4 separate regions of the Homo sapiens genome follow, and all the other regions are linked to region 3. The links are contacts of gene promoters, found by promoter capture Hi-C in human tissues and cell types (Jung and others, 2019). All regions are on one chromosome and are shown on one strand. Each heading gives the region's core, a stretch centred on a gene start or on the middle of the fragment in contact. The rest is flanking DNA. Distances are from core to core; before and after follow the strand shown. Region 1 holds the start of DFFA (DNA fragmentation factor subunit alpha). Region 2 holds the start of ENO1 (enolase 1). Region 3 holds the start of SLC25A33 (solute carrier family 25 member 33). Region 4 holds the start of CA6 (carbonic anhydrase 6).

The links. The method cuts DNA at HindIII sites, captures the fragments that hold promoters and counts their contacts. A contact is called where the count stands out against the background at its distance.
Region 1: a contact is called between the fragment with the promoter of DFFA here and the fragment with the promoter of SLC25A33 in region 3, in 1 of the 25 tissues and cell types used here (pancreas).
Region 2: the fragment with the promoter of ENO1 here is called in contact with the fragment with the promoter of SLC25A33 in region 3 in 1 of the 25 tissues and cell types used here (dorsolateral prefrontal cortex).
Region 4: the fragment with the promoter of CA6 here is called in contact with the fragment with the promoter of SLC25A33 in region 3 in 1 of the 25 tissues and cell types used here (adrenal gland).

The regions. Positions count from the first base shown.
Region 1 is chr1:10,470,868-10,475,421 of GRCh38, forward strand. It overlaps DFFA (DNA fragmentation factor subunit alpha), which reads right to left and starts at 1,662. Exons shown (of 6, transcript NM_004401.3): 1 at 1,456-1,662. The coding sequence starts at 1,591. It overlaps PEX14 (peroxisomal biogenesis factor 14), which reads left to right and starts at 4,083. Exons shown (of 9, transcript NM_004565.3): 1 at 4,083-4,135. The coding sequence starts at 4,100. RefSeq lists enhancers at 1,131-1,230, 3,192-4,157, 3,980-4,169 and a silencer at 4,170-4,339. The HindIII fragment of the contact is 16,915 bases long and covers 1-4,554 here.
Region 2 is chr1:8,876,295-8,881,335 of GRCh38, forward strand. It overlaps ENO1 (enolase 1), which reads right to left and starts at 2,392. Exons shown (of 12, transcript NM_001428.5): 1 at 2,286-2,392. It overlaps ENO1-AS1 (ENO1 antisense RNA 1), which reads left to right and starts at 2,541. Exons shown (of 2, transcript NR_038351.1): 1 at 2,541-2,666; 2 at 3,271-3,591. RefSeq lists enhancers at 1,229-1,821, 1,822-2,415, 2,416-3,007 and silencers at 1,766-1,885, 2,096-2,145, 2,866-3,115. The HindIII fragment of the contact is 5,823 bases long and covers 1-5,041 here.
Region 3 is chr1:9,536,041-9,541,016 of GRCh38, forward strand. SLC25A33 (solute carrier family 25 member 33) reads left to right here and starts at 3,425. Exons shown (of 7, transcript NM_032315.3): 1 at 3,425-3,707. The coding sequence starts at 3,652. RefSeq lists silencers at 3,181-3,700, 3,721-4,080 and enhancers at 3,190-3,484, 4,151-4,280. The HindIII fragment of the contact is 17,899 bases long and covers 1-4,976 here.
Region 4 is chr1:8,944,387-8,949,491 of GRCh38, forward strand. It overlaps CA6 (carbonic anhydrase 6), which reads left to right and starts at 1,482. Exons shown (of 8, transcript NM_001215.4): 1 at 1,482-1,579; 2 at 4,877-5,056. The coding sequence starts at 1,501. The HindIII fragment of the contact is 10,958 bases long and covers 1-5,105 here.

The sequences.
Region 1 (4,554 bases), core at 412-2,911, 930 kb after region 3:
CTGGCTAACATGGTGAAAAACCGTCTCTGCTAAAAAATACAAAAAATTAGATGGGCGTGGTGGTGGGCGCCTGTAGTCCCAGCTACTCGGGAGGCTGAAGCAGGAGAATGGAGTGAACCCGGGAGGCGGAGCTTGCAGTGAGCCGAGATAGCGCCACTGCACTCCAGCCTGGGTGACAGAGTGACACTCCGTCTCAAAAAAAAAAAAAAAAAAAGAAAATGCTTTTTGTTCTTTACAGTATCTTCCTTAGCAGCTTCTTTTCTAACCTATGGGAAAGTATAAAAGAAGTGGAAGCTTCTATCAGTAGCTTTTCATATCATTATCATTGGCGGAGAGGCTTTCTCCAGGACAGGTCTGTACTATTCCATTTAGTGATAGCAATGCTTCAAATACTAACGGGACTGGAGTGATCAGAAATAGCCAAGAGACTACAAATATCCTTCAGCGGTGTTGTCTACCACCCAATAGAACAGCAAGGCATGTATGCGCTGGACTGCAGAGAACACCAGCCTCTGTGCCACGCACATCCAGCCACGGCACTGAAGGGGAATTAGAAGTAAAGTAATCTAATGTCAGGAAAAAAAATACATAAATGCTTATATGCAAAATCCATGTTACCAAAGCATTTATAATGCTTTGGCTGTTCATGGGTCTCTGAAAATTTCCATATGATTTCTGTTGGTGACTGAGAGGAAGCAACTGTGCCCTCTGACACACACTGTGACTACATGCCTGGGGCTGGCTCACACATGTAACCTGTAAAACTTCTTTGGGTAAGCGATTTGTTGCTACTGGCTAATAAGACTTGTAAGTCACTTAAATATATCATCTTATTTGAGAGAACCAACAACCCTTTGAAGCAGGGCTATAAATATTATACCCAATTTGCTGATGAGAAAACTGAGGGTTGAGAGCTGGTTAAGTGCAAGGCCAAGCAGCTGGTAAAGGTATGGGGCCGGGCTCGGAACTTCCGTCGGCTCCGTCACTTACAACTCACGTTCCTTGTCTGGACCTCCAGAAATGGTCAGTAGCAGCTCCCTCTTTCCTGCATAGGTTCCTGCCAGAGCGGACGGTGGAAACCCCTCCCCACACCGCCGTGGGCTCAGCTGGGGGTTCTTGTACCATCTGAGTGTGGCGGAGTGGCAGGAACCCAGTGGGGTCCGTTTGGTCCAACATCGAAGTGATTTCAGGCAAGAGACCTAAGCCGAGTCTGGCTTAATTTGCACATTGCTTCCTGGCTGTCTTCCCACCACCGTGGAGTCTCACACGAGATTAATTACGCTCAAGCGCCTTAAATCTGTAAATCGCTATGCCCACTCGGACCGTTTCTGTCCCAAGCCTCCACCCGAGATACAAGAATCCCCAAGTCGCCTCTCCTGACCCCGCCTCGCCCCCGCCGGACGTCCTCACCCGGCCCTGGCTCCCCCACACCCTCGCCCGGGGTCCCGAGCCAACCCTTGCTCCTCAGGTCTTCGAGGCAGGAGGCGGCCACGCCGTGCTGTTCGCGGCTGTAGTTGCGGCGCAGCAGACACGGCTTTAGAGTCCGGATCTCGCCAGATTCTGGTACCCCGGCGTCCCCGGTCACCTCCATCCTCCACAAGGTGGGACCTGCCCACCTTCGAGAAGTCGCGGGAGGCCGGAGCGGCGGTCCTTCTACTCGACCCCCTTCCGCAGCCTGCCGGGAGATGTAGTTCGTTCCGCAGCAAATCACACGTGAGACCAGGGCACGCCGGGAAATGTAGTTCTAGTTGCCGCTAATCACGTGTGGCGTCGAAGCATGCCGGAAACTGTAGTCTCTGGGTTTAAAGCCGCTTTCGTTCTATCGCGCGATTCAGCCTAGGAGTTGTTTTTAACTTTTAGGAGCTGCATTCGCGCGTTCAAATATAAGGCCAATAGAGACTTATTTTGCATGACGATGCACACGCATGTATACTGTATTGAATTTTTAGAGCATTCCTATTCGCATATGAGATGCATAATGCTAATACAGACACCCGCATGTTTCCACCCATTCTATTTCCTGCTTCAACTGTGCAAATTAGTTTGGGGTCTCAGAACAAAACGCTTAAATAAATATAGTAAGCATTAAAGTCTCAAATGCATCGGAGAGGAAAGGGGAAATGCGACTCGGCACTGTTGGAGATTGTTCAGATGCCTCTTGACAACATATTCATCTTTGTTTTAATACTGCTACTATGGAAAAGTTTGTTTTTTTCCTCCTGAAAAATAAACATCTAAGATTAAAAGAATAGTAATAAAAATGATCAAAAAGTTCCTCTCTTAAAAGAGGGCATTTTATGTAAACTAGAAGTAATTATCTGCTCATATTTATTCATTCGGGGGACACTTTCCTTCCTTGTTTCTTTTTTCTTTTTTTGAGACAGCGTTTCGCTCTGTCTCCCAGGCTGGAGTGCAGTGGCGCGATGATGGCTCACTGCAGTTTTGATCTCCTGGGCTCAAGCAATCCTCCCACCTCATATTTTGTTTATAAAAACGTGGGCAAGGGCCCCGGGGGCGGTGGCTCACCCCTGTAATCTCAGCACTTTAGGAGGCCGAGGCGGACAGATGATCTGAGGTCAGTAGTTTGAGACCAGCCTGGCCAGCATGGTGAAACCCTATCTCTACTAAAAATACAAAAATTAGCCGGGCGTGATGGCGCACGCCTGTAGTCCCAGCTCTTGGGAGGCTGAGGCAGGTGAATCGCTTGAACCCGGGAGGCGGAGGTTGCAGTCGGCCCAGATCGCACCATTGCACTCCAGCCTGGGCGTCAGGAGCAAGACTTCGTCTCAAGCAAAAACAAAAACAAAAGCAAAAACAAACAAAAAAAACGTGGGAGAGGAAATTGGATATTATCTCAAGAAAAGTTTAGACATTTAAAACAGCGTTTAGTAGGAGGAATTATTCATTAAGTCATCCCTTTTAAGCAGTCTATATTGATCAAAACACAACTATAATAGGAGCTGGCGGTTAACTCTAATGTATGTATCCTTTTTCATATAATTTCATTTTTTATTTTCTTATCTTATTTTTAGACAAGGTCTCGCTCTGTCGCCCAGGCTGGAGTGCAGTGGCATAATCATAGTTCACTGCAGCCTCAACCTCCTGGGCTCAAGGGATCCTCCTGCCTTGGCCTCCTAAAGTGTTGGGATTACAGGTGTGAGCCACTGCTCCCGTCCAATATTTAATTTAAAATCTAACAATTAAAAAAATCTAACAATTCAACCAGTGTAAAATAATGACGTTTTGTAGAAGCCTCTTCTCTTCAAAATGCCCCCTTTTATGTTCTCCCAATAGACCTGCACACTTATCCGAGTCCTATCCCCATAATACTGTAATTGTAAGTGTGTTTGGCCTGGGCGTGGGAGTAGGGATTGAGTCTTGAATGTTTTTATTTCAAGGCCTACCAAAGTCCCTAGCATATAGTAGGCACTCAATGAATGGAACTGAACTGATGTCTAAAAATTAATTTCCAAGTTTCTTCGCATTCATCCATTGGCAAGTCCCTAAATGTGCCCATGGCACTGTGGGGATGGGCAGAGATTAACTCAATAAGAATAATATGGGCCGGGCGCTGTGGCTCACTTCTGTAATCCCAACACTTTGGGAGGCCGAGGCGGGCAGATCACCTGAGGTCGGGAGTTCGAGAGCAGCCTGACCAACATGGAGAAACTCCATCTCTACTAAAAATACAATGTTAGCCGGGCATGGTGGCGCATGCCTGCAATCCCAGCTACTCGGGAGGCTGAGGCAGGAGAATCACTTGAAACCGGGAGGCTGAGGTTGCGGTGAGCCGATATCGCGCCATTGCACTCCAGCCTAGGCAACAAGTGCGAAACTCCGTCTCAAAAAAAAAAAGCAAAACCAGAATAATACACATATAACAACGCAAAGAAGATATAGACTTGGGATCTTCCTGGAAAGCAGAGTCTTAACGGAAACTATGCAAGGTGACCCGGACACCCGGGCTCCACCCCTCTGCCCCAGTCCCCTACATCGACAGGCTCTGTTCCGGCTACCTTAGTCTGGGCGGGAGGGCGAGAGCGAGGGCGCCTGGGAGAAACCTCGCCCAGCGGCGGTTGATTAGTCAGGCCTCAGAAAGATGGCGTCCTCGGAGCAGGCAGAGCAGCCGAGCCAGGTAAGGGGAGTGGGACTGCCCCGCTGTGCGGCGGAGACCCCGGCTGGAGGGGGCGCTCAGCATACGGCTGGGAGCCGGGTAGGGACCCCGAGTCTCCGAAGCTGGGGACCCCGACCTCTTGCCCCCTCCTGAGCCCCGCCCCTCCCCAGGTCCTCCCCACCCGGCCCCTCCCCCCGGTGACCCCTCTTTGACCACATTCCGGAGCCCGGGCTCTGGTGTTTGGCTGTGCCCCCGGGTCCCCACTTCCCGCCTGCCAGCACCTCTGGTCCCACTTGAGCTTGTTGGGGAGGGTGACGGGACCCTTGGGAAGTCCCCAGCCTTGAGCTGCGAGGGCTTGAGAAGGAGAGGATAGATCGATCGTTCCCGGCTGTCCCCTCCGGGGAGGGGCCTGTTTCCATTAGGGTTCCCACTCCCTCACG
Region 2 (5,041 bases), core at 1,142-3,641, 660 kb before region 3:
TTTGTTGTCTATGTAACAATGGAGTTTTATTCATTAGCCAAAAAAAGGTACTTACTTTTTACTAGGTTCCAAAAAGGCAAATTTGTTTAAACATATTTTTAGATTTAATTTTGCGTTTTGGCAAATTATATACCCGAGTAACATTTCCATCACTGCAAAAAGTTATCTCAGGCCATTTCCAGTCAATATCCCCCTGCCCCATCTCCAGGCCACCACTGTGGTATACTTTGAGTATTTCAGTCATACTTTTAAAGGCAATTTTATTAGGGTGCCTCAGTACTTTTGTTTTCATTTTAGTGACTTAAGACGAAAGAAAGTCTTGGCCGGGCGCGGTGGCTCACGCCTGTAATCCCAGCACTTTGGGAGGCCGAGGAGGGTGGATCACGAGGTCAGGAGAGGAGGCTGAGGCAGAAGAATGGTGTGAACCCGGGAGGTGGAGCTTGCAGTGAGTCGAGATCGCGCCACTACACTCCAGCCTGGGCGACAGAGAGACTCCGTCTCAGAAAAAAAAAAAAAGACAAACGTCTTAGGATGTGAAAATAAAGTGTGATTTTTTTTTTATTTTTTGAGACGGAGTTTCGCTGTTGTCGCCCAGACTGGAGTGCAATGGCGCCATTTTGGCTCACTGCAACCTCAGCCTCCTGTCTCAGCCTCCCGAGTAGGTGGGATTACAGGCGCCTGCCATTACGCCCAGGTGATTTTTTTTTTTTTTTGAGACGGAGTCGCGCTCTTTCGCCCAGGCTAGAGTGCAGTGACACGATCTCGACTCACTGCAGGCTCCGCCTCCAGAGTAGCTGGGACTACAGGCGCCCACCACCACACCCGGCTAATTTTTTGTATTTTTAGTAGAGATGGGGTTTAGTAGAGTAGGATGGTCTCGATCTCCTGACCTCGTGAGCCACCCACCTCGGCCTCCCAAAGTGCTAGGATTACAGGCGTGAGCCACCGCGCCTGGTCGATTTTTGTATTTTCAGTAGAGACGGGGTTTCACCACGTTGGTCAGGCTGGTCTCTAACTCCCGACCTCAGGTGATCCTGAGGAGGCCCACCTCGGCATCCCAAAGTGCTCGGATTACAGGCGTGAGCCACCGCGCCCGGACCATTCACAGCTTTTTTAGCTGCCTGGATGGAACCCCGAATTAGGGACACGGTAAATGAATGGAGCAGTCAGGGCCCGGGTGGGCCTGAAAGGCAAGTGAAGCAATGGACCCTACCGCCCAGAGAAGCGCACAGAGCAGGGGAACATTGAACAGGAAGCTTTCTTAAAATACATCCTTCTTGGCCTAGCGCGGTGGCTCACGCCTGTAATCCCAGCACTTTGGGAGGCCGAGGCGGGCGGATCACCTGAGGTCGGGAGCTCAAGACCAGCCTGGCCAACATGGTGAAACACCGCCTCTACTAAAACAACAACAACAACAAAAAAAAAACAAAATTAGCCGGGCGTGGTGGCGCATGCCTGTAATCCCAGCTACTCGGGAGGCTGAGGTAGGAGAATCGCTTGAACCCAGGAGGCCGAGGTTGCGGTGAACCGAGATCCGAGATCGCGCAATTGCACTCCAGCCTGGGCAACAATAGCAAAACTCAAAAAAAAAAAAAAACCAAATCAGATCAGGCCCGATTTTTGGTGGCCAGCCGGGGAGCCGCTCTTGCCCAACTTGGGCGAGGTCGCCTGGAGGACTTGCCAATGATCTAACGGCTCTGCTGTAGGTTCCTCAAGAGGTGCCTTCTCGGAGTTAAATGAGTCACCGCTTACTAGGCAGAAGCGCGGGCCGCGAGCGCGGGCGAGAGGCGGGGGCTACCGGTGGGGGAGGGGGCCGCAGCCTCGTGGCCATCTCCACTATCGCCGCCCTCCTCCATTTTAGGAAGGGCCTGGCCTGAGTGGCCACCGCCGCTAAGTCTGCGTCTATCCCAAAAACCTTACACTTGGCTACGATGGAAAAGCAACTTCCACTCCCAACTCCCGCTGTGCTAAGCAGCTCGCGTGTGCAGCTCCCGACCTTCCCTGACAGTGACTCGGCCCCGCAGTCGGTAATCACGTGTTGATCTGCACTTTCCCCTCCAAAGAAATCGGGGGCCCAGCACGTGCGCCTGGCATTGCGCCCCCGCCCCGGGCCTCGGGGTGAGCGGGGGCGCCAGTTCCCACCCAGGGAGGCGGCTTGCACGTGCCCCCGACCCCGCCACGCTGGGCCTGCGGGCGCGCCGCCTCCCTCGGAGGGAAAAGAGCCCCACAAGCCCAGAAAAGCCCTGCGCCGCCTGCCCGTTGCTCAGCCCTTCCCCAATCATTACCTAGCCACTGGGTCTCGTCGCCTAGGAGAGGAAGCGGAGGGTGCTGCAGACACCGAGGTGAACGTAAAGCCGGCGAGATCTCCGTGCTCCGGGTACCCACAGATACTGTCCGCGCCGCCCGCGCCGACTTCCTGCCTAGCTAAGGCGAGCCCCACCCACTTCCCGCCTCCGGGGCACGCCCCCTCAGCTCCGCCTCGCCATTCGTCGGGAGAGCCGTCACTCATTCCCTCACCTCCCGGAAAGGGGTGGGACTGCGACGGCTGCAGTAGCGTGGAAAGGGGGGTGACGTCCCGCGGACTTGAGGCGGGCAGATCTGGGGGGCCCCGACTCCCCAGCGGCCCTGTAGTGGTGCGGGCGAAACTCTGGCCCCAGATAGGACCGGTGAGCCGAACTGGGGTGTGCGGAGCCGGGGCTCCGGGGGATGGCCCGGGGCGGCGTGGCGGGCATGAGAGCTCGGGGCTCCGTCACGTACTCCGAGTCCCGCACGCACTCAGCGTCGCTCTGGGGCCCCACGTCCGGCCCTCGACCTTGCTGACAACTTTGGCGGCCCGGGCCTGCCGCGGCCCTCCTGCCCCGCCCCTCCTGCCTCGCGCCGCGATCCGAGAGACCCCGTTGGCGTCGAGTCGTTGAGAGGCTGCGCGCCTCGGCCCCACTCCGGGGTTGGGGCGCTGGCCCCGCCGCAGCGCTGCGTGTCCGGGGCCACGTGCGCCGCCTGCGCCTGCGCGCTGCCCTCCAGCCGCGCCCGTCTGGCCGGGCTCCGCCTGGCACCCGCCAAGGTGACCCTGTCCCTTTCTCCTTGCTGCGGTGAGAATCAGGCCGAGACAGCCAAAGGAAGGTTCACTTTCCTTTAATTCTACCTCATACTTTTTGAGTGCCTTCTAGGTGTCCGGCGCGCCCCCACGTGCTTCCCCAGTGTTAATTCATTCTCTCTCTAGTCCATGTCATGTTGCCTCTCAAATTTTACATCCCTCTCATTCCCATCTAGGGAACTAGATCAAACCTACCTGGATTCTTGTGAACCATTCATGTGAATTATTTGGAACTGGAATTTCACACAGACCCGGGGAATTTCTCAAAGTTCAAGACGGGTCATATTCCGTGGAATACGGAAGGAGTTGGAGTGATTTCACTTTTCTGATCAAGAACTGATAGCCATTAAAACTCAGCTCCGCAATATATCCCCCCACTCCAAGGGAGGGCTGAGATGATCACTTCGTTTTCTGTTACGGCTACTTTTATATTTTTCAACATTACTGCTGGTCTGTAAGAGAACTAAAACATCTGATTTTCCTCATTTCCTTGTAAAGAGGTGTTCAAATATGTACTTGAATTTAATTATTTCTTCTGGTCAGCTGCAAAACCTGCTTTTCTTCCTTAACCCCTAGCATTTTTATCCTCTTAGCTACAGACAGGTTTCCATGGCGTTGGTTAAAAATTAAGGCCTATTGAGACCATAGTATTTGCTTTCCAGTGAGTAAGAAGCAAGAACTTTAGGATTAAATTCAGCAAAAAGAAAAAAAAAAAGAGTAAAATTTTGCAAGCAGAGTTTGTGATTTCACCAGCAACACACTAACGTTTTTGGCTACTGAAAACCACTATCCCCAGCCCCATGACTCAGCAGCTAAATCAACAGCCAACATCTCCTACTGGTAAGGACTCTAAGAAATCAGGCACTTGGTACTCTCAGAGCAATTCTAAGGCGTGGCCCTGAAAGGGCTCCAAACAATCTTATTTTACATAAAAATGGTTAGAGAGATAAAGATACTCTGCTGTGGCCAGAACCAGTAAATCTAGCAGGAAATCAGAGGCCGAACATGATCCCGGACTGCTGCCGTTGCAAGATTCTTGGAGGCTGCAGCGCCACATTCTGAGCCAGCACTTCGACCTCACATTGTAGCTAAAATGTTAATGATTACTAGAGATGTCCTGAAATCTTTTTCAAAATTCACAGGCTGCCAAATGCCCTCCCTGTTTCCATAGCTCCTTAGGCTTTGTTAGCAGGCTGTGGGGTTCACATTTGCTTGTAGTCAGCACAACGGCATTGCATTTAGTTATTATTTCTCACTTGCTGTAAGCTTGTTGAGAAGTTTTATTGGTGGTGGGCAGGTGGGGAATAACTGTCCAAAGCTATCAGAATACCACACCTTGAAGCACTGTAGGTAACACATGCATGGTGTCTGCAGGTGGCCGGGATCAAGGGAGAGTGAATCTGCTACGACCTGTAACTCGCTTGGATTACTGATTCTCCCTGTGATACGTGTGTAAAAATCACTGGTCAGCTTGAGAAAGGGATCTTTGTGAAAGAGGGTCTCCAGCCAGATAGGGAACTTCAGGGTTGGATAAGGAGCTCTGGGGAGGTAAGATACCAGATGAGTGCAGAAGGGGATGTAGCTGGATGGTCCCTCCTCATAACAGATCATGAGGTTTTGGTATTCATCACTCAGTATTTCACGTACACCAGAGACTACATAAAGCGTATATAAATCTCTGTGTACCCACATCCCGCTTAAGAAATGGAACACCATGCTGGGCGCGGTGGCTCACGCCTGTCATCCCAGCACTTTGGGAGGCCGAGGCGGGCGGATGACGAGGTCAGGAGTTCCAAGACTAGCCTGACCAACATGGTGAAACCCCGTCTCTACTAAAAATATAAAAATCAGCTGGGCTTGGTGGCAGGCGCCTGTAGTCCCAGTTACTCAGGAGGCTGAGGCAGGAGAACCACTTGAACCCGGGAGGCGGAGCTTGCAGTGAGCCGA
Region 3 (4,976 bases), core at 2,175-4,674:
ATAATTTTTAAAATTTTTATATTAAAATTGCTGCTAGCAAAACCTTTTTTTTTGTATATTGACCTTATTTCCTGTGATCTTGCTAAATTCACTAATTAGTTCTAGTAGTTGTTATATAGATTACTTAGAATTTTCTAGTAAACAGTTACATCATCTATGACTGAAGACAGTTTCACTTCTTTATGATCTTTACACATTTTTTTTTCTTGCCTTACTGCACTGACTAGGGCCTCTAGCACAACATTGAGTAAGTGGTAACGGCAAATATCTTTGCTTATTGCCAATCTTAGGGGCAGGTGGTCAGTTATTTAATGTTGTGTGTGATGTTAGCTATAGGTTTGGGGTAGACGCTTTATATCAGATAGAGGAATTCCCTCCTGTTCCTTGTTTGCTGAGAGCTTTTTTTCATGAATAGGTGTTCAGTTTTTTCAAATGCTTTTCTGCATCAATTTACATGGTCATCAGGTTTTTTTCCATTATTCTCTCTTTCTCTTTCACTGTTTTTTTTTTCTTTTTTTCCTTTTTTTTTTTTTTTTTTTTTTTTTGCTGTTGACACAGCCCCAGGAGGTCCTGGGAACATGTGTCCCTGTTATTCTCTTAATATGCTGAATTATATGGATTGATTTTTTGAATGTTAAACCAATCTCTAATTCCTGGGCATCTCTCATTTCGTCCTGATGTATTATCCTTTTTCTATATTGCTGGATTTGATTGCCAATGTTTCATTAAAGGTTTTTATCTATTGGAATCTCTGTTGTATACCCAGTACATGGCCATGGCCAATGCCTGAGCTGGTGTCAGAGGAGCTCTAGAAGTCTAGGAAGGGGGCCATCCTAGTCAGGGAAAATAGCAGGTTCAAGCCAGGCGTGGTGGCTCACACCTGTAATCTCAGCACTTTGGGAGGCCAAGGCGGGCGGATCACCTGAGGTCAGGAGTTCGAGCCCAGCCTGGCCAACATAGTGAAACCCTGTCTCTACTAAAAATACAAAAATTAACCAGGCATGGTTGCGGGCGCCTGTAATCCCAGCTACTCGGGAGGCTGAGGCAGGAGAAACGCTTGAACCCAAGAGGTGGGGGTCGCAGTGAGCCGAGAACGCACCATTGCACTCCAGCCTGGGCAACAAGAGTGAAACACCGTGTCAAAAAAAAAAAAAAAGAAAAAACCAACAAAAATTAGCCAAGCATGGTGGCATATGTCTGTAATCCCAGCTACTCAGGAGGCTGAGGCAGGACAATCGCTTGAATCTGGGAGGTGGAGTATGCAGTGAGCCAAGATGGTGCCACTGCACTCCAGCCTGGGTGACAGAATGAGGCCTCCTCTTAAAATAATAGGCCAGGTGCGGTGACTCACGCCTGTAACCCCAGCACTCTGGGAGGCTGAGGTGGGCGGATCACGAGGTCAGGAGTTTGAGACCAGCCTGACCAACATGGTGAAACCCTGTCTCTACTAAAAATACAAAAATTAGCCCAGTGTGGTGGTGCATGCCTGTAATCCCAGCTACTCAGGAGGCTGAGGCAGGAGAATTGCTTGAACCCGGGAGGCAGAGGTTGCAGTGAGACGAGATCGTGCCACTGCACTCCAGCCTGGGTGACAGAGCAAGACTCCATCTCAAAATAAATAAATAAAAATTAAAAAAAACATATAATAAAAATAAAAAATTATTTATTTTTACTTTTTTTTTTCTTTTGTAGAGACAGGGTTTTGCCACGTTATCCAGGCTGGTCTTGAGCTACTAGACTCAAGTCATCCACTCTTCTCAGCCTCCCAAAGTGCTGGGATGACAGGAGTGGGCCACTGTGCTGGGTTTTCTTTACTTCTTTTTCTCAGATATCTCATGCCCTAGTATGGCTTCCCCTTCTCCTAGGCCTGGGAGCAATGGCTTTAATAGTAACCACTGTATTTGCATTTTGGAGGACTGCTCCTAAGAGCTGTTTTTATTTAAAGAGTCCCAGCAATCAAATACAGATTGGCTGGCTAGCTCCCACGTTTCCACACAATTCCCTCCTACTTAAGCTCTCTATGTTTACACACAGGACATCTAACTGCTTGTTCTGGTCAAGGTACAGCTTTCCGGAGCTCTGAGAGACGGAAGAGAAAGGGTTGGTACGTTCTGCAGGTGAATGGTGGTCTGCTGAGAGAGAGACAGACAGAGAGACATAGTCCAAGGTAACAGGAAAGCTTCTGGCACTGGTGCCTGTGCAGTCAGTGGTGTCACTGCCAGGACAGGAAATAGAGGTAGAGCAGGTTTGGGGGAGGGGAAGAATGATAAGTTCAATTTGGGACCTTTATTCATTAGCTCCTTGGGCATTACTAGGTGGCAGGTACTGTGTCAGGAACAACTGTGAACAAAAGAAATAAGGTCCCTGCTCTCCTGAAGCTTACATTCCTGTATGGGAAGGACAACTTAAATAAATCAACAAACTAACTGCAGAAGCCCTGGTTCTATAGTCGTGTGACAGACTGCGCTGCAAAGGCGGCCAGGAAAGTCTCCATCTGGGGGAGACCTGGAGATTAGAAGATGTCAGGTTGAGTATGACAATGACCCAGTGACATAGGCTGAGAGAAGCAGTTTGGATATCTAGGTCTGGGCTGGAGATGATCAGAAAAGAAGCAAAAAGCATACTGCAAAATATACGCAGCATATACTACTACTTATAGGGAGATCAAAAATCCACATAATGATAATGATTATTAATTATTTGAGACAGAGTCTCGCTTTGTCGTCCAGGCTGGAGTGCAGTGGCAAGATCTTGGCTCACTGCAGCCCCCGCCTCCCGGGCTCAAGCGATTATCCAGCCTCAGCCACCCAAGTAGCTGGGATGACAGGGGTGCGCCGCCTCGTCCGGCTAACTTTTGTATTTCTAGTAGAGACACGGTTTCGCCGTCTTGGACAGGTTGGTCTGTAACTCCTGGCTTCAGGCGATCCGCCCGCCCGCCTCGGCCTCCCAAAGTGTTGAGATTGCAGGCGTGAGCCACCGTGAGGGCCTCACTGATTATCTAAGGCTGTTTAGATTATAGATTTTTAGATTATGTTTTTGTTTCCCTAAACGGGGTGGTGAGTACAGAGGTGTGAGATGTAACACGTAATTTGTACACCTTTTGCACACGTAAATATCACAAAGTAAACTTTTAAAATAAGGCAAGGCCTAGGGCCTCGCGAGGCTTCTCTGAGGAGCGAGGACCAGTCAGTCACAGCCAGTTTCCACTGCCTCCACGCTCCGGCCTAGGCCAGCCCCTCTCCCCAGTCATTCGCTCGGGGCTGGCTCCGCCCCAGAACTGCGCAACCTCCCCGCCCACATCCGCGTCCTAACCAATGAGCGCTCGAAATTTGGGTCCACACCCCCGTCACGCCCCGCCCCAGACTCGCGCGCCCGTGACGTCACGGTCCGGCCCCCGCCACGTGACGGCCGCGCGCCGGGCTCTAGCTCCCCGCCGGGCTCGCGCCGCAGAGGCCGGTGAGGCGCCGGCGGCCACGCCGCGGAAGGCGCGGGCCGAGCAGAGCCGGGCGTTGGAGCCCGCGCGCGCATGGAGGCGTTGCCGGCAGCCCCCTGAGGGCAGCGGGGAGACAAGACCCGGCGACCTCGCGCATCCCTCGAGCCGCCACGCGCTCTCGCCACCGGGCGGCGACGGGCCGCGGAGCCGGCGCGGCCATGGCGACGGGCGGCCAGCAGAAGGAGAACACGCTGCTTCACCTCTTCGCCGGCGGGTGAGTTCCCGGGCCCAGCCGCGCGCGCCCCACCGCCTGCGGTCCCCTCGGCCTTCGCCCCGGGCGCGGCCCCAGCCTCCCGCGGCGGTTACCGGCCTTCCCCGGGCTACGGCGCCGGCGCTCGGGAGGAGGAAGTCCCGGCGTCGGGGACTGGTGGGCAGGGCCGAGGGAGGGGGTCGGGCCTTCCTCACCCCTACGTCCTGACCGCAGCCCCGAGGGCGGCTGTGCCCCGCCGCCCGTCCTCCCCGCGGCGTCCCCAGCTTTTCCCCATTCTGAAGAGTCAGTGGCCGGTGAGTGGTGCTCGGCGGCGGTCCAGCCTGGACGCTGTGGCGCGGCCCCCCCTCCCCCGCCCCCTTCTCCTGGGGCCTCTCCCGAAGCGCAGCGCCTCAGAGCCCGTGGTAGGATCGCTGATGCTCGGGTGTGCCCGAGGTTCCTCAGGGCAGCGCGGGAGGTCATCCGGACGGGCAAAAAGGTCTGCGGACGTTGGACGTCAGCAAGGCCTGGGTGGTGCTGGTGAACGGTGATGCTTGCGGCCACACGCGGGGTGGCTAAGCCAGGGACCCGAACTCATATGAGGTCTGGAAGGTGTGTTGAGACACTTCTCGCCGGCTGGTAGACGCTTCCAACGCCAGAGACCGCAGAATTGTAAGGTGTTCCTTGTTTTGAAAGCTGCATTAGGTCTATGGTCAGGCACCTTTTTTCCAGCGGAGACAATGCATTTTTAGGAGGTTGAGTTCTGCGGTTAGGAAGGGAGATGGTACCCCTCGCCACCTCCCCTTGTCACCTCCCGCCGAGAATAGAAGGTAAAATATTTTTGAGTATTAGTAATTTTCTTTTTTCCTTTATCACAGCCGGTGGCTTGGGGTCCTTTCGGAGTCTTACAGATATTTGGAGTATTAATTTGAGGACCTCATCGGCCTGGCACAGGAATTTTTGAGTGTAGGATATTTTGCATAAAATAGTTTATTCTGGGATGATCATCTTGGCTTGAGTAGTTGCAGCCTGGATTCCTACCTGGATATGTTCCTTACAACAAACAATGGTTGAGAAACTTATCTTGGAAGATGACTGATGAAAGCGTCCCTGAGCTTTTTTTGTACTTGTATTGTGGGCAGTCACCAGGTTACTTTAACCAAAAACTTCGGTGGGTCTTCATAGATTGGAAGAGTTTCTCATTCATCTCTTCCCTGTCATTCATTCCCTTGCAACCCTTCCCTCCATGTCTCCATTGAGACTTCCTTTTTTTTTTTGAGAGGGAGTCTTCCTCTG
Region 4 (5,105 bases), core at 232-2,731, 590 kb before region 3:
ATGGTGAAAACCTGTATCTACAAAAAGTACAAAAATTAGCAGGGCGTAGTGGCATGCGACTGTGGTCCCAGCTACTTGGGAAGCTGAGGCAGGAGGATTGCTTGAGTCCAAGAGAAGTGAGCTGAAATCGTATCATTGCACTCCAGCCTGGTGACAGAGAGAGACCCTGTCTCAAAAAAGAAAGAAAGAGAGAAAGAGAGAAAGAAAAGAAAGAGAGAAAGGAAGAAAGAAAGAGAAAAAAGAAAAGGAAGGAAAGCTGAGGCACAGAGCGCTGAGTTGCCCATGGTCACACAGTTAGCAGGTGGCACAGATCCTGTCTAGTTTCAGAATCCTTGTCCTTGAACATGCTTTGCTCTCTCTCTGAGATTCTTTCAGCTCTTGAGCTTTAGAAATGGAAGTTTCCAGCAAGTTCTTTGCAGCAGCTGATGTTCCCTATTAAATGACAGTGGGGAGTCTTAGAAGTATTCGGGAGGCCTACGTTCACCGCTAACATCCTTGTTGTGAAGGCCTGCTGACGTTTGCCATTCCAGGACCAAGTGGACAATGAGTTAAGCTAGGCCAGGAGGGGGTTCAGCTCCCCATAACAAGGCAGGGGTGGCCCTTTGTGTCCGGCAGCATGGTAGCCCCCCCGCAGGAGCTCCGGCTACCCTTTGTGTTTGACCTTGTGGAAGGGCATGGGAAATGCTGGCCTGTCAGCAGGCATAAACTCAAAAGTTTCTCCTTCAGCTAATTTCAGGGACTGTCTAGCCAAGTGAATACACAGGATTAGGTAATCCATGGATCCTGCGAGGGCAATTGGCTGATTGGCTTAGGTGTGCCCAAGAGCCCTGCAGGTGTCAGAACAAATCCATGTAGAAATGCAGACGCCCACACCAGCTTGAATGGCATAAAGGCACACATTGGAATGTGGCTCATGAGCTGGGACCCAGGATCAACCACTGGTTTAAGGAGAGGACCGTGAAATGTCCAAACATGGAGGCCAGGCCACCTCCCTGGATGCCTGGCTGAGGGCAGCCACATGTCTGCAGCGGTGGCTTGTGTCCATGACTGAGATGGGCAGGGTTTGCAGGCAGTGGTGATCCCATCAGCAGTCCCCAGATCTCTAATGTCAGGAGAAAGAGCATGGGAAGTCCGACGTCCAGGAAAGTCTTTCATCCTGCTTCTCCCTGCCTTGGGCCTTTTCCCATTTCCGCGGTCACCTGTCCACAATGGCTGCACTGTGTGGCTCTTCAGGTGTTCCTAAGACACTGAACAACCAAACCCATGGACTGACCGGATATGAAATTGACGTGGGAGGAGATCAGGCAGGTGCTGGGGCTGCCTGGCGCAATGCACGGAGCCAGAAGTGCTGTTATGGGGAGGGTGTTATTGTTTTAGTGGGTGCAGCAAAGGGTGGTTTAGCCAGCTGGGCAGATCAATTGTAAATTGTTATTTACAGTTTCTGAGCCTTTAAAAGAAGAGCTTCGCCGGAATCAGTCTTCATTACAGATGTGCAGCACCATGAGGGCCCTGGTGCTTCTGCTGTCCCTGTTCCTGCTGGGTGGCCAGGCCCAGCATGTGTCTGACTGGACCTACTCAGGTGAGCCCCTAGCTTCTGCATGCTCCCCCAGTTACCCTCACACCCTTACAACAGGACAAGTGCCCTTCTTCTTCTTCTTTTTTTTTTTTTTAGACAAAGTCTTGCTCTGTTGCCCAGGCTTGAGTACAGTAGTGTGATGTTGGCTCACTGCAACCTCCGCCTCCCGGGTTCAAGTGATTCTGCTGCCTTAGCCTCCCGAGTACCTGGGATTACAGGTGCCTGCCACCATGCCTGGCTAATTTTTGTATTTTTAGTAGAGACAGGGTTTCACCATGTTGTCCAGGCTGGTCTCGAACTCCTGACCTTAGGTGATCTGCCCATCTCCCAAAGTGCTGGGATTACAGGCATGAGCCATTGCGCCCGGCCAAGAGTCCTCCTTTAGGGCATTTCACAGGATGGCCAGGCAGCCCACTTGCCATATGTTGGGGGTCTGCTCATTGTGGCTTCAGATGTTACCTTTTCAGTGTCTCAGAAGGTATGGAGAATAAGCTGAACTTAAACTTCAAATAAGGAAAAGAAGGAAATAGCTTTCCCCTTCACAAACTCCTGATTTACTTACAGGCTTTTTGCTTTAAATTTTTTTCCATCCACAGTGTTGGCTGGTTCAAAAGCACACTCACTGCTTCTATTTGTAAAACCATTTGCTTTGTTGGTCCGTGTAAGTGGAAAACAAAGTTCTTAGAAAAGACTCTCGGTAACCTCACGGAAGGTGCTGTGGGGTTTGCGAGACCTTCTTTCTTGGAAATTTCATGGTAGGCAGTTTACCCAGAACATCTTGACATAAGGACCCAGTTCCCTTTGATCTGTGGGCTGCCAAAATGAGAGGTGTTTTTTTTTTTGTTTTTTTTTTTTTTTTGAGACAGAGTCTTGCTCTGTTGCCCAGGCTGGAGTTCAGTGGTGCCATCTCGGCTTACTGCAACCTCTGCCTCCTGGTTTCAAGCGATTCTCATGTCTTAGCCTCCCAAGTAGCTGGGATTACAGGCACTCATCACCATGCCTGGCTAACTTTTGTATTTTTAGTGGAGATGGGGTTTTACCACGTTGGCCAGGCTGTTCTCAAACTTCTGACCTCAAGTGATCCGCCCACCTTAGCCTCCCAAAGTGCTGGGATTACAGGCGTGAGCCACCGCGCCAGGCCCCAAACCAGACTTTTAAAATGTGAAATGTAAAATCCTGGCATTCAACATGGGTTCTGGTCCACATGTGAGCCAAAGCTAGAAGGCCGTGTCTGTGGACTTTGTGGACACTAAACAGCCCTTTCCAGGGGCAGTGAGGAGAGCTTCTTCCCGCATCCCCCTTCTTTCCATACGGGACCATGGATTGGGGCCCATGAGGAGGCTGGTGGCCGCTGGCTGATGCAGGAAGTGAGACAAACATCTGCTTCCTGCAGAGTCTGCCCCAGTTCAGCTGCTCCGGAAGCATTCCTTCAGGGTGAACGGGATGATCTGTTAAGTCAAGGGCAACGGAATTAGGGACATCCTGGGAGGTTCAGAAAGTCCAGCCAGCTCTGAACAACCGCTCTGTTCCTGAGGACAGTGATCTTACACATGGCAGTGCCTCGGAAGCCTGGGGCATTCTGCTTCACTTGGCCAAGCAGTGCAGGCAGGTGGTTCAGAGGTGAAGGAAGAGAGAATTCAGACAATGAAGTCCTTGTCCTTCCCAGGCTCTGCCCAGCCTCTGAGACAGTGGGCTTCCTGGGAAACTACTAGGGGCTCCAGGAGAACTTGAGAGTAGCTTTTGTAAATGCCTTCCAGGGAAACCTGAGAGATGTTCCAGTATTGACAGTGCCCTGGGCCAAAGCATCTTGCTCTGAGAAGGCGTTGTGCTCCAGGCCAATTGCCTTGATTACAAACCAAAAAGCGGTGAGGGCCCTAGTACAGACACCTTTTTTTTTTTTTTTGAGAGTTTCACTCTCGTTGCCCAGGCTGGAGTGCAGTGGCGCGATCTCGGCTCACCGCAACCTCTGCCTCCTGGGTTCAAGTGATTCTCCTGCCTTAGCCTCTCAAGTAGCTGGGATTAACGGCATGTGCCACCATGCCCGGCTGATTGTTTTTTATTTTTAGTAGAGATGGAGTTTCTCCAGGTTTGTCAGGGTGGGTCTCGAGCTCCCAACCTTAGGTGATCCACCCGCCTCGGCCTCCCAAAGTGTTGGGATTACAGGCATGAGCCACCGTGCCCAGCCACAAACACCTGTCTTAAAACAAGCTGTGTACTCACCACACAGCTACCCCCGAACAGGGAACAGAGGTGGGATTCTCCATGTCACATGGCTGACTCCAAGCTCCACAGCTGTATGGGAGCCAAGTCACCATGATAATCACTCACCTATGTTACTCTGTCCCCTACGATTATCAACCCTCTCTGAAAAGATAAACTTTCTCCTTATGAATTTTAAAAAAGTACTCATTCTAGGTTGTCCTGGAACCTGATGCTTCCTTAGTTTCCCTGAATCCATAAGTGTAGACACCTAGATGGTCTTTACCATACGGGAATCCATAAAAGGGGCTGGAGCAAGAAAATAGTGGTGGGGGGTTCCTGCAGCATGGGGAGGTGGGGGCTGTGTTCCTGTTGGGGGCATGGAAGGACAACTGGGCCCTTGGGAGGAAATGAGGAAGAGGCCCCAGGAGCAGCACAGGAAGAGCAAAGCCAAGGATCCCTCCATGCATTCACCAGCTGGAAATAAGTCAAACGAGAGCAAAAATTTACGTATAAAACACTCTCAGGCCGGGCACGGTGGCTCACGCCTGTAATCCCAGCACTTTGGGAGGCCAAGGTGGGTGGATCACCTGAGGTCAGGAGTTAGAGATCAGCCTGGCCAACATGGTGAAACCCCGTCTCTACTAAAAATACAAAAATTAGCCAGGCGTGGTGGTGCATGCCTGTAATCCCAGCTACTCCGGAGGCTGATGCCGGATAATCTCTTGAATCTGGGAGGCAGAGGTTGCAGTGAGCCAAGATTGCACCACTGCACTCCAACCTGGGTGACACAGCGAGACCCTGTCTCAAAAAAAAAAAAAAAAGACTTCCATTGATTTCAAAACACTGTCTTGCTCCCAGGGCCAGCAGTTGCCACAGGAAAGTTAGAGGTTAGCACCAAAGCCCCCCAAACACCAGAGTCCTTGGAGTTGACCTCGTTGTCTTTTTGGCCTCCTTCTGGGGGACCTGCTTCTGCTTTCTGGAAGGTGCCTCCGTGGGTCCCCGCCCAGCAGGCCCTGGCCTCTGGCCTCTGGCCTGGTGAGGTTCCTCCAGAGTGGGCGCAGCCAGGCAGCCCCTTGAACTGTGTCTTTCCTGTCTTAGAAGGGGCACTGGACGAAGCGCACTGGCCACAGCACTACCCCGCCTGTGGGGGCCAGAGACAGTCGCCTATCAACCTACAGAGGACGAAGGTGCGGTACAACCCCTCCTTGAAGGGGCTCAATATGACAGGCTATGAGACCCAGGCAGGGGAGTTCCCCATGGTCAACAATGGCCACACAGGTAAGAGGAAGGGGTGGTGAGGGGCTCCAGTCCATGGGCAGCCTGCAGG